Linked DNA regions of Homo sapiens: all the other regions are linked to region 3. Evidence: promoter capture Hi-C in 16 types of primary human blood cells and fetal thymus (Javierre and others, 2016). All regions are on one chromosome and are shown on one strand. Each heading gives the region's core, a stretch centred on a gene start or on the middle of the fragment in contact. The rest is flanking DNA. Distances are from core to core; before and after follow the strand shown. Region 1 holds the start of COA3 (cytochrome c oxidase assembly factor 3). Region 2 overlaps EZH1 (enhancer of zeste 1 polycomb repressive complex 2 subunit). Region 3 holds the start of PSMC3IP (PSMC3 interacting protein). Region 4 overlaps EZH1 (enhancer of zeste 1 polycomb repressive complex 2 subunit).

The links. Contacts are between HindIII fragments. The CHiCAGO score rates a contact against its expected background, and 5 or more counts as called.
Region 1: the fragment with the promoter of COA3 here is called in contact with the fragment with the promoter of PSMC3IP in region 3 in 1 of 17 cell types (endothelial precursors); the score reaches 5.1 in endothelial precursors.
Region 2: a contact is called between a fragment that was not itself captured here and the fragment with the promoter of PSMC3IP in region 3, in 6 of 17 cell types (megakaryocytes, erythroblasts, M2 macrophages and 3 more). The highest score is 8.9, in megakaryocytes.
Region 4: a contact is called between a fragment that was not itself captured here and the fragment with the promoter of PSMC3IP in region 3, in 5 of 17 cell types (megakaryocytes, M2 macrophages, erythroblasts and 2 more). The highest score is 11.1, in megakaryocytes.

The regions. Positions count from the first base shown.
Region 1 is chr17:42,797,060-42,800,106 of GRCh38, forward strand. It overlaps COA3 (cytochrome c oxidase assembly factor 3), which reads right to left and starts at 1,645. Exons shown (of 2, transcript NM_001040431.3): 1 at 1,409-1,645; 2 at 566-1,108. The coding sequence starts at 1,622. The coding sequence ends at 1,002. CNTD1 (cyclin N-terminal domain containing 1) reads left to right here and starts at 1,802. Exons shown (of 7, transcript NM_173478.3): 1 at 1,802-2,177. The coding sequence starts at 2,009. It overlaps WNK4 (WNK lysine deficient protein kinase 4), which reads left to right. Exons shown (of 19, transcript NM_032387.5): 19 at 1-7. RefSeq lists enhancers at 1,328-1,397, 1,538-1,587, 1,608-1,657. The HindIII fragment of the contact is 5,104 bases long and covers 520-3,047 here.
Region 2 is chr17:42,737,848-42,740,629 of GRCh38, forward strand. The region is part of intron 1 of EZH1 (enhancer of zeste 1 polycomb repressive complex 2 subunit); the gene reads right to left. Among named protein-coding and RNA genes, the nearest start is that of EZH1, 5.8 kb to the right of the region's middle. The HindIII fragment of the contact is 9,431 bases long and covers 1-2,782 here.
Region 3 is chr17:42,575,910-42,578,979 of GRCh38, forward strand. It overlaps PSMC3IP (PSMC3 interacting protein), which reads right to left and starts at 1,820. Exons shown (of 8, transcript NM_016556.4): 1 at 1,744-1,820; 2 at 1,552-1,652; 3 at 1,304-1,393. The coding sequence starts at 1,777. RefSeq lists a silencer at 1,732-1,781 and an enhancer at 2,082-2,171. The HindIII fragment of the contact is 6,888 bases long and covers 1-2,766 here.
Region 4 is chr17:42,712,973-42,715,695 of GRCh38, forward strand. EZH1 (enhancer of zeste 1 polycomb repressive complex 2 subunit) reads right to left here. Exons shown (of 21, transcript NM_001991.5): 11 at 237-417. It also overlaps the pseudogene RPL34P30. Among named protein-coding and RNA genes, the nearest start is that of MIR6780A, 6.2 kb to the left of the region's middle. The HindIII fragment of the contact is 9,418 bases long and covers 1-2,723 here.

The sequences.
Region 1 (3,047 bases), core at 395-2,894, 220 kb after region 3:
ACAAGAACGCCGTGAATCCATATGCCATGCCTTAGGAATTGGGGGAGCAAAGACTTGTGGGGTGAGGCAGGGGAGGATTTAAAAGGGACTTTCTTTTCACAATGGGAGGCAGGGGTGGAAGCTGCCCAGCCCTCTGGCTTCCTGCCATCAGTTAATGAGGAAACTGCAAGGTCAGTGATCCACTTGACTAAGTTAGGATCCCCTCCAGACCCCACCCTAGACCTGTATAGGCAGGTACCAGGGAAAGTTAAAAGAATGAAGACTGCTTGTCTTTCACCCTTCATCCACCTCTCTCTCCCTCCCTCTCTCTGGGGATGGGAAAAGCAGTAGAGTTACAGTATGTTCTTGTGGGTAGAGGACAGAAGAGTGACCTTCCTTCCCCTAAGACGTGGGTTCAGTCTCAAACTGCCCAGTGATCTCTCCCTTAAATCAGGTGGAAAGATCTCATGGAAAAAGTAATTCTAGTTAAACATTTACAGCTCCCTGGGGCAATGCCACCACTGCAGCTACTGCTTGTGAAGCTTTCCAGCATGAAGTGCCATATGCTGCCTCTCAGCCTCCATACTCACTTGACTCCAGGAGAATGACTCAGTTTATTATTCTCAATTTGACCCTATGTATCCCACTGTAGGCTCAAACACTGCACAGAGCTGCCACGTCTAACCTCGTAACAACTGCGTCCCTGGAAGGTGAAGGGGGTAAACCACAAAGTCAGAAACTTTGGGAAAAGCCACGGTCGCATGCACACCTCTCAAACAAGGAAACAAACTACAAGAAAGGGCTCAGTCATTGTACACAGCAAGTGTGCAGTGGGCAAAGTTCTGTTCTTTTGACATTGGCCAAATGCGTAAGTCCCTGGTTTCTTGGGCTCAATCACGGTCCAAGGTTAGTAAGAAGGCCAACAATGTTGTGAGCAGGATTCAATTTCTACAGGGTCATGGGGCATCATCCACCATGTGAAGGGGCTCCAGCAGGTTGGACATGATCAATACCCATCCAGATTAGGACCCTGACGCCCTTGCCAGAGCTCGGGCTCGGGCAGCTTTGGCCTCGTCTTCTAGCTCATCTAGGAAACGCTCCTGGGAAATCGAGTAGAAGGTGTAACCATCTGGGGAGGTAGGTTCAGGAAACCACACAGAATATGCACATTCCCCTTTCCTAGATTTGCTCTACCACTCTTGTTACTCTCCCAAATCAGTGATTCCGGCTTCCCGCCGCTGCTGTTTCTAAACCCTGAACCCCAATTCCGTTATTATTAATAAATCAAATTAAAAGAGTACCTTAGGAATAACAAAGGAAAGTACTACCCATTTTACCCCAAAATTAAACGGGTGGTTCAGCCCTCTTGCACACTCTGTTCCCCTGCCCCTATATGCGGTCCCCTTGAGTCTACAACACGGACGGATACAAATAGCCAACACCAGGGCCCCGATGCCTAGGCCGGTCACGATGTTCCGGGTTCGCCGCCGTGGTAGGACCTTCTGCCACTGGGCAAGCTCCGCCTGCCGCATGGAATGCAGTTGCTCGGGTGTCAGCTTCTCCCGAGTCGGGTCGATACGCTGAGCGAACGGGGCCTCTCCACGCTTAGAATCCAGAGGGTCACCAGCTCCCGAAGACGCCATGTTGCCACTCCTCCCTTCGCGGTGCCGCCGCGCGGGCCTCGCTGGGAACAGTAGCCCTTGGCCGCTGCAGTGGACTCTGGGAGTTGTAGTCCGCGTGCCCTTTGCGGGGCAGAGCCGCGGTTCCCGGGCACAGGGGATGGACGCGGGAGGTGAGAAGCGGACGTGCTTTCTGATTGGCTGAGGAGTCCGTGGCCGTTGGGGCGGGAAAAAGCTGTGGAGGGTTCGAGGCTGTGGTGGTAATTGGGTTTTCCTCAGACTTGAGGCGACGACACACTCATTGGAAGGGGACGAGGAATCCAGGGTGTGGCAGAAGACTGGAGAGGAGCTAAGGGGGTCGGTATGTGGATCCAGTGAACCCGTCCAGGTGCCCCAAGAGGCTCGTGAATATGGACGGACCCATGAGGCCACGATCGGCCTCCCTCGTTGACTTTCAGTTTGGAGTTGTCGCCACAGAGACGATTGAAGACGCCCTGCTTCACTTGGCCCAGCAGAATGAGCAAGCAGTGAGGGAGGCTTCGGGGCGGCTGGGCCGCTTCAGGGAGCCCCAGATCGTGGGTGCGGCTGCAGGGCCGGGGTGCTGGGTTCTTGGGAGACTGGGGCTTGTGTCTTTCAGGCACCGACCTTGAGATTCCGTTGATTTTATTCATTCAGAGAATGTTTGCTAACACCTCTCTGTGGGGTGCTGGGGATATAGTGATGGATAAGTCACAACAGTGCCCTCCCCTTGATTTCTTCGACATGTATGGAATACTTGAGTGGCACCGCTTGGCTAGAAAGATGAAATAGAGGGCCAGGCATGGTGGCTTACACCTGTAATCCCAGCACTTTGGGAGGCTGAGGTGGGAGGTTCACCTGAGGTCAGGAGTTCGAGACCAGCCTGACCAACATGGTGAAATCCTGTCTCTACTAAAAGTACAAAAATTAGCCAGGACTGGTGGCGCGCACCTCTAATCCCAGCTACTCGGGAGGTTGAGACAGGAGAACTGTTTGAACCCAGGAGGCGGAAGTTGCAGTGAGCCGAAATCGTGCCATTGCACTTCAGCCTAGACGACAAGAATGAAACTCCGTCTCAAAAAAAAAAAAAAAAAAAAAAAAAAAAAAAGGCTGGGCGCGGTGGCTCACGCCTGTAATCCCAGCATTTTGGGAGGCTGAGGCGGGCAGATCACGAGGTCAGGAGATCGAGACCATCCTGGCTAACATGGTGAAACCCCGTCTCTACTAAAAATACAAAAAAAAGCCGGGTGTGGTGGCGGGCGCCTGTAGTCCCAGCTACTCCGGAGGCTGAGGGAGGAGAATGGCATGAACCCGGGAGGCGGAGCTTGCAGTGAGCTGAGATGGCGCCACTACACTCCAGCCTGAGTGACGGGTGACAGAGCGAGACTCTGTCTAAAAAAAAAAAAAAAAAAAAAGAGAAAAGAAAGATGA
Region 2 (2,782 bases), core at 45-2,544, 160 kb after region 3:
TGGGAAAACATTACTGAAATTGTATGGCAATAAAAAATTTAAGGAACGGCTGGGTGCGGTGGCTCACGCCTGCAATCACAGCACTTTGGGAGGCCGAGACAGGCGGATCACGAGGTCAGGAGATCAAGACCATCCTGGGTAACACAGTGAAACCCCGTCTCTACTAAAAATACAAAAAATTAGCTGGGCATGGTGGCGGGCACCTGTAGTCCCAGCTACTCAGGAGGCTGAGGCAGGAGAATGGCGTGAACCCAGGAGGCGGAGCTTGCAGTGAGCCGAGACGGTGCCACTGAACTCCAGCCTGGGCGACAGAGCAAGACTCTGTCTCAAAAAAAAAAAAAAAAAAAAAATTTAAGGAACAAGTTCTTAAACTTAGAGAGACTGAGATCAGAATACAAAAGTTCCAAACTATTAAATTTTTTCATCTACATAAGGTGTCCCTTTGCAGAAACAGCTTCTTTGTCTTAGGGGCAAATTCAGTGTCTTTGATAGTTTCTCTTGAATAATAATTTTATTAACCAGCAAGGCTAAGTAAGCCTTTGGAGGCAGATGGCACTACAGATTTTTATTTTTTAATTTTATTTATTTGTATTTATTATTTGTATTTATTATTATTTTTTGAGACGGAATCTCGCTCTGCTGGGATTACAGACGTGAGCCACCGTGCCCAGTCTATTTTTTTTATTTTTTTTTGAGATGGAGTCTCACTCTGTTGCCAGGCTGGAGTGCGTTGGTGCAATAACAGCTCACTGCAACCTCTGCCCCAGCTAATTTTTGTATTTTTAGTAGAGACAGGGTTTCACCATCTTGGCCAGGCTGGTCTGGAACTCCTAACCTCAGGTAATTCACCCACCTTGGCCTCCCAAAGTGCTGGGATTACAGGCGTAAGCCACCGGGCCTGGCCTAGATTTTTTTTTTTTTTTTTTTTTTGAGAAGGAGTCTCACTCTGTCACCCAGGCTGGAGTGCAGTGGTGCTATCTCAGCTCACTGCAATCTCCACCTCCTGGGTTCAAGCGATTCTCTTGCCTCCACCCCCCCTGAGTAGCTGGGACTATGCTCGCCACCAAGCCGGGTTAATTTCTGTATTTTTAGTAGAGGCGGGGTTTCACCATGTTGGCCAGGATGGTCTCCATCTCCTGACCTCGTGATCCACCTGCCTCGGCCTCCCAAAGTGCTGGGATTACAGGCGTGAGCTACCACGCCTGGCCCCTGGCCTATATTTTTAAATATTTCATCCTATTCCTTTTTTGATTCATAGTGTAATTGAAACCTGAATGATAGGGGTGAACCTATCCCTGCAAAGAGCTCTAGTAACACACCTTTGGGTCATTCTGGTGATCACCAATTTCATCAACATTTCAATTAAAATCAATTCTGTGACTAGGTACACAGCCTGATCTCTCAGTTAGGATCTATAAAGCACATCTCTAATTTATACCCTCCAACTTCTCTGAGGTATTTTCATCTGTCATTAGTTTGAGCTTCTGGGCACTACACACAGAAAGAACCTTCCTAACAGGAACCTGTGACTCTGAATTCTAATTTAAAATAAAATTATAACATTAGTATTTCCTAGTGTTGCTTAATTAAGAGAATCAGATCAGCTGGGTGCAGTAGCTCACACCTGTAATCCCAGCACTTTGGGAGGCCAAGGCGAGTGGATCACCTGAGGACAGGGGTTCGAGACCAGCCTAACATGCAGAAACCCCGTCTCTACTAAAAATACAAAATTAGCCGGGCATGGTGGTGGATGCCTGTAATCCCAGCTACTCGGGAGGCTGAAGCAGGAGAATCGCTTGAACCCAGGAGGCAGAGGTTGCAATGAGCTGAGATCGTGCCATTGCACTCCAGTCTGAGCAACAAGAGTGAAATTCTGTCTCAAAAAAAAAATTAGATCGTATGCACTGGAGGTAATGGTAACAAAAATCTAAACAGGATTAGTTTTTTTTTTTTTGAGACAGAGTCTCGCGCTGTCGCCCAGGCTGGAGTGCAGTGGCGCGATCTTGGCTCACTGCAAGCTCCATCCCCCAGGTTCACGCCATTCTCCTGCCTCAGCCTCCCGAGTACCTGGGATCACAGGTGCCCACCACCATGCCCAGCTAATTTTTTGTGTTTTCAGTAGAGACAGGGTTTCACCATAAACAGGATTAGTTTTTATGAGACCCAAAGGAAAATGCTGGCTCACAGGATTTATAACTCTGGTTTAATTTTATTTCATTTTATTTTGTTTTTTGAGAAAGGGTCCCACTCTGCCGACCAGGCATGATCATAGCTCACTGCACTTCGACCTCCCAGGCTCAAGGGATCCTTTGGCCCCAGCCTCCCTAGTAGCTGGGACTACGGGCACATGCCACCATGCCTGGCTAATTTTTTATATTTTCAGTGGAGACAAGATCTTTTTTTTTTTTTTTGAAACGGAGTCTTGCTCTGTTGCCAGGCTGGAGTGCAGTGGTGCAATCTCAGCTCACTGCAACCTCCGCCTCCCGGGTTCAAGCGATTCTCCTGCCTCAGCCTCCCGCGTAGCTGGGACTACAGGTGCAAGCCACCACGCCCAGCTAATTTTTGCATTTCAGTAGAGACAGGTTTCACCATGTTGGCCAGGATGATCTCGATCTCTTGACCTTGTGATCCACCCGCTTCGGCCTCCCAAAGTGCTGGGATTACAGGCGTGAGCCACTACGCCCAGCCTACAAGATCTTGCTATGTTTCCCAGGCTGGCCTTGAACTCCTGACTTGAAGTAATCCCCCTTCCTCAGCCTCCCAAAGGGTTGAGATTACAGAC
Region 3 (3,070 bases), core at 570-3,069:
CTCTGGGAGGCTGAGGCGGGGGAATGGCGTGAACCCAGGAGGTGGAGCTTATAGTGAGCCGAGATTGTGCCACTGCACTCCAGCCTGGGTGACAGAGCGAGACTCCGTCTCAACAACAACAACAACAACAATAACAAAAAGAGATAAGGGCCTGAAAAAGAAACAATTAGCTCGGAGCATTCAAGGAAGATTTCTGGAAAAGGTGATGTCTAAGTGAAATCCTCAAGGAAAGAAAGAGCTGGCCAGGAAGAGAAGCAGGTACAGGGAAGACAACATGCAAAGGACAGAGCAGTAAAACACACCAGAATTATCTAGTGTTCGTGGATAGAAAAATAATGAGGATTGGTGAGGCCAGAGGCTGGCTGGGGCGTCTTCCGGTGCCTTTTACATGTTTTTTGCAGCACTAGAGAGCCATTGAAGAGTTTTAAATAGGGAAGGTGCATGACCAGATCTATTTAGACAGATCATTCTGACTGCAATGTTTAAGAGTTTAAGATATGTTTGAAGAGCCAAGATCTGTTAGGAGGATACTGCAACAAATAAAGAGGGCGTGAACTAGAGCAACCATGGCAGATGGAAAGGAGAGTGGATTCAAGAATGGAAAAATTAGCCAGGCTCTGTGGTTCACGCCTGTCCTCCCAGCACTTTGGGAGGCCAAGACAGGAGGATCACTTGAGCCCAGGAGTTGGGACCAACCTGGGCAGCACAGTAAGACCCATCTCTATAAAAATTAAAAAAATAAATAAAAACGGAAAAATCAGCTGGACTTGATGGTTGACTAGTAAAGGAAGTCAAGAATTGCTCCCAATTTCTGGTTTGGGTGAAGAGTAATTCCATTAGGGGAGGAGAATGTTAGAAAGAAACCAGTCCGGGGTGGGGGGAAGATGAGGCATTCTACTGTGGCAATTTTGACTCTGATATTAATGCCTGACAGATTCCAGCTGGAGGTCTGGGCTGGAGAATATAAATTTGATATGTGTGTTTAGAGAATCGGATGGAGGCAGGAGGAACATCATTTGGCAGAGGGTGTTGCTAATGTAGATGATAAGGAATAAGAGCTTTGGAGCGGAAATGGATCTTGGTAGCAACAATACAGAATCTTCTGTCATCCATCATATTGTAAATCTGGAAACCTCGTGAAGTTGGGATCCTAACAAGAGGAGTACACACCTTGATTTAAGGATGGTGGCCTAAGACAGGTGAGTTTTCCATGGGGGGCCTTGTCCCCAAAGAGTTCACACCAGGAGTAGATTCACCCGTTGTCGGGCTCTCATGGGTGACAATCGGCGCAAGTTCTCCTCACCTGATCCGCAAAATAGATCTTCTGCTTGCCGTACATCTTCTCTTTGATCTTGCCTTGTTGCGCCAGCTGCTCCAGCGTCTTCACCACCACCTGGCAGAGGAGAGAGAAGGAGCAATCAGAGGAGTCTGAGCCTGGGTCTGGGGAAATCCAGCCAGTGATGTGGAAAACGCCCAAGGCTCCAAAGGGCACGACCCCAGCCTGAATCCAGGGAGTCCGACGGAGAGGGAATCCCGGGAGAAGGTCCTCACCGCCTTGCCCAGTCCGTGTTCCCGCTGTAGGTTCCCGAACACATCCTGGGAGCTGTAGGGCCGGTTCTGCTCCTGCAGGTACCTCAGGAGGATCCCGGCGGCTACGGAGAGAAAGGCAGGGGAGGGGGCCACTCAACCGACCTCCTCACCCACTGCCCTCCCGGGTCTTCCCCGCGCCCACGGCGCCGTTACCTCCCGCCGCAGCTTCTGCCCGGCCTTTACTCATCGCCTTTCCCGCCACCCAACTCAGAAAGCCGGACGTTGTAGTTGCTCGGGGCGACGGCTCCTTCCGGCGACGGGGGCGGGCCTCGAACGGTGATTGGCTGAAGGGGAAGCCTTCCGGAGGAGCAAAGCGACCCCTCCCGGACTCCATAGTTCATTTCAGGTCGGAACTTGCGCATTCGGGCCGGACCTCAAGCCATGGGCCTCTGCGAAGGCGCCGGCGTGCCCACGGCTAAGAAACTTCCTCTTTCTGCTCCCGGGAACGAAGGCTGTAGCAGAGAAGGCCTTCAAGTTTCGAGACCCAGTTCCAGCCGCAGCTGAGCACTGGTGACCTTGAATTAAGTCTAATGTTGGGATTGGAAGACGCTTCAGACATCCGCTGCCGCCCTGGGCAAGCGACCAGCTCAAGGTTACCCCACAGGGACGTGCTCTGGTCCCACGGTCCAGTGCTCTTTTGTCGGTTAGTTTTGTCATTTGTAAAATAGGAACAGTAGATAGTGGTAGGAAAGTGGTTGTGAAAACTTAATAGAAAGCTAAGCGCCTTGGTCGGGCGCAGTGGCATGTCACCCCTGCAATTCTATCACTTTGGGAGGCTGAGGCGGGCGGATCGTTTGAGCCCAGGAATTCGAAACCAGTCTGGGCAATATGAAACCCCATCTCTGCAAATAAAGTACAAAAAATTAAGAGTGGTGGCGCGCTTCTGTGGTCCCAGCTACTCTGGAGGCTGAGGTGGGAGGGTCACCAGAGCCCCGGACATCGAGGCTGCAGTGAGCCACTATGAGCGCGCCACTGCACCCCATCCTGGCGACAGAGCGAGACGCAGTCTCGAACAAAAAAAAAAAAAGTGGGAAGGGGGGACAGCTAAGCGCCTTGGAGAGCAACCACCCTTATTTGCCTAATACCGAGCTTCGCACCCAGGGGGCACTCGACACCTACTGTAGTTTGGACGCCAAGGAACGATAGGGTTAGGAGGGGGCTACTGTTCAACCACAAAGCTTGTGGAAAAGTTTGTTAGCCCAGACAATCTCAGGGCAACACCTGGCAGGTGCTTTCCACCCCTGACCACAGTGGCCAATGGGACAGAGCCTGAAATAAATATTTCTAGTTTCTGAGGTGAGCTGAAGGCCAAAGAGCAGCTGTCCCTGCAGCTCAGACCATCCAGTGAAGGAGTAAGGTGCTACTTTTTAAAGCCTTCTGCTACCTACAACCTCCTTAGCCTTTAAAACGTGTGCTTGTCTCTGCACGTTTAGGAGACAATATTAAGAATTAGAAATGAAAGGGCCGAGCGCGGTGGCTC
Region 4 (2,723 bases), core at 88-2,587, 140 kb after region 3:
GGTTGCAGTGAGCCAAGATAGCACCACTGCACTCCAGCCTGGGCAAAAAAGCGAGAGACTGTTTCAAAAAAAAAAAAAAAAAAAAAGAAAATATTCCCCATCTTTACTGTTTACAAAACTTGTAGAAAGAATTTATAATTTTTAAGAGGTAGTAAAGTTAAGTGTCAGGCAGTGATCCTGGGTTTACCAGAGTCCTTGCATGGAAAGAAAAAGTCTTCATTTTCTGTTCATCGTACCTGAAGAACTGGAGGCCCAGTCATTGCCTGTGTCCCTGTCACTGTCTCCTTCTTTAGTCTCAGCCACAGCAGAGGCTGAGGCATTGGAGCAGGAAGCACTGACTATGTGGTGCCTTCTCCGGCGACGACCAGAGCACTTGGAGCGGGGGTTGTGGAGCATGGCATACTCCTTTGCTCCTTCCTGCAGTGGACACATTACAGACAGGAAATAGGAACAGGCCCATCACCATATTGATCTCATCATCACAAACTTTCATCTTTACAACATCTGTCTACAATAATAGTGTCTTTTCTTTTTCTCTGTACCATATAATAAGTATGATCATATAACAATGAGAGCTGCTTAACAAAACTTACGTACTTTTTCACAAAAGAGTTGTCCTATAATGTTTTTTTGTTTGTTTGTTTTTTTGAGACAGGGTCTCTCTCTCTTGCCCAGGATGGAGTGCAGAGGCCTGCTCACTGCAGCCTCGAATTCCTGGGCTCAAGTGATTCCCTTGCCTCAGCCTCCCAAGTAGCTAGGACCACACGCACATGTCACCATGCCCAGCTAATGTCCTATAATCTTAAAAAAGATATAATCTATGCATCTGTGTCTTCAATTTTCCAGTGAGTTGTATCTAAAATTAACTTGCGTGTTACTTGTTTGGAATTTGAGAACACATTCTCCTATGGATGAAGAAATGAGATTCAGAGAGGGGAAGAAACTAGCTTGAGAGTATGCAGCTAATAGTTCCAGAGGGGTATAGGAATCAGGGCTCCTTGTCTCCCTAGGCCACTATTCTTTCCAGTCTACCACACTTTCTCTGTTTCCTTAATAAAATGTGTAATGCTTAATCTGTACAATCTTACTACTTAATTTTGAAACTTCCTCCCAAATCTGTGTATGAAACTCAGAAGAATATTGTTTCATTATTTTACAGCTATCACCCCCTTTTTTAAAAAATGAAATAATTATCACTCACCTAGATCATCAATATTTTCTCATCAGACTTGGTTTTCAAAGACTTCCTAGCTGTTTCTGAAAACTAAATCTATTTCTACAAAATAAAGGTTTATCTTCCAGTGACATTGTCTAGAGGCACTCAGAATGGTCCAGCATTTGACATACATGTAGGCTTTCCTACAATATAGCTTTTAACAAAACTAGGCTGTCCTGAGCCCCTGGTAATAGAATTGATTACCTTTATACCAAGAGGGTTGGGAAAGCACTGAAATCTGCATGTGGCGTGTGCCCAGCAGACTTCGGGGGGTTTGTGCTATGAGACCTAAAGTTCCTATGAGATTGTCCAAAACAAAAAAGCATGTCAGCAGGGCCTATGGTGGATCCGTGTGTGCTGAATGTATTGGTGCAGGAGCAAGTGTGCTTTCCTTAGCAAGCAGCAGAAAATTGTTGTGAAAGTGTTGAAGGCACAAGCAGAGTCAGAAAGCTCAATTTAAAAATGAAGTTTTTTTGAGTAATAAAAATGAAAAAAAAATAAAGGTTAACTATCATTAAGGGTATCTGGAATTTGGAATAATATACAGTAAGGCCTAAAGGAAATTCCAAAAGAGAAGTTTCAAAATTAACTGAACCTGATATTATGTGCCTATGCTGTGTATGAAGTATACAGTATCAATTATACTATTTTAAACATTTATATATATTTACATATAATTTTTATATATTATATATATAATATATAATATGGAAATATATTATATAATTATATAATTTATATAAATATAAAATATATATTTATATAATATATAAATATATGAAATTTATATAAATATATTTATATATAATTTATATAAATATAAAATATATATAATTTATGTAAATATAATTTATATATTATATATGTATTTATATACTATATATTACATGTATTTATATATTATAGATTATATGTATTTATATATTATATATAATAGATTATATGTATTTATATATTATATATTATAGATTATATGTATTTATATATAATATATATCATAGATTATATGTATTTATATATAATATATATTATAGATTATATGTATTTATATATAATATAATATATAATAGATTATATGTATTTATATATATATATATTTTTTTGAGACGAGGTCTTGCCCTGTCACCCAGGTGAGTACAGTAGCATGATCTCAGCTCACTGCAGCCTTGACCTTCTAGGCTCAACTGATCCTCCCACCTCAGCCTCCCAAGTCCAGTCCAGCTAATTTTTGTATTTTTTATAGACATGGGGTTTTGCCATGTTGCCCAGGCTGGTCTCGAACTCCTAGGCTCAAGCTATCCACATGCTTCAGCCCCCCAAATTGCTGGGATTACAGGCGTGAGCCACCATTTTAATATAATGGCCAAACATTTTAACATAAATAAAATCAAGTTTCCAGACCTAATTTCTAGGTTATAAGAAAGAGGAGACAGAAGAACACAGAAATGACACTGTGAAAAAACAACAGATGAATCCAGGATGTGGGTCATCCTACAAGACAACCAGC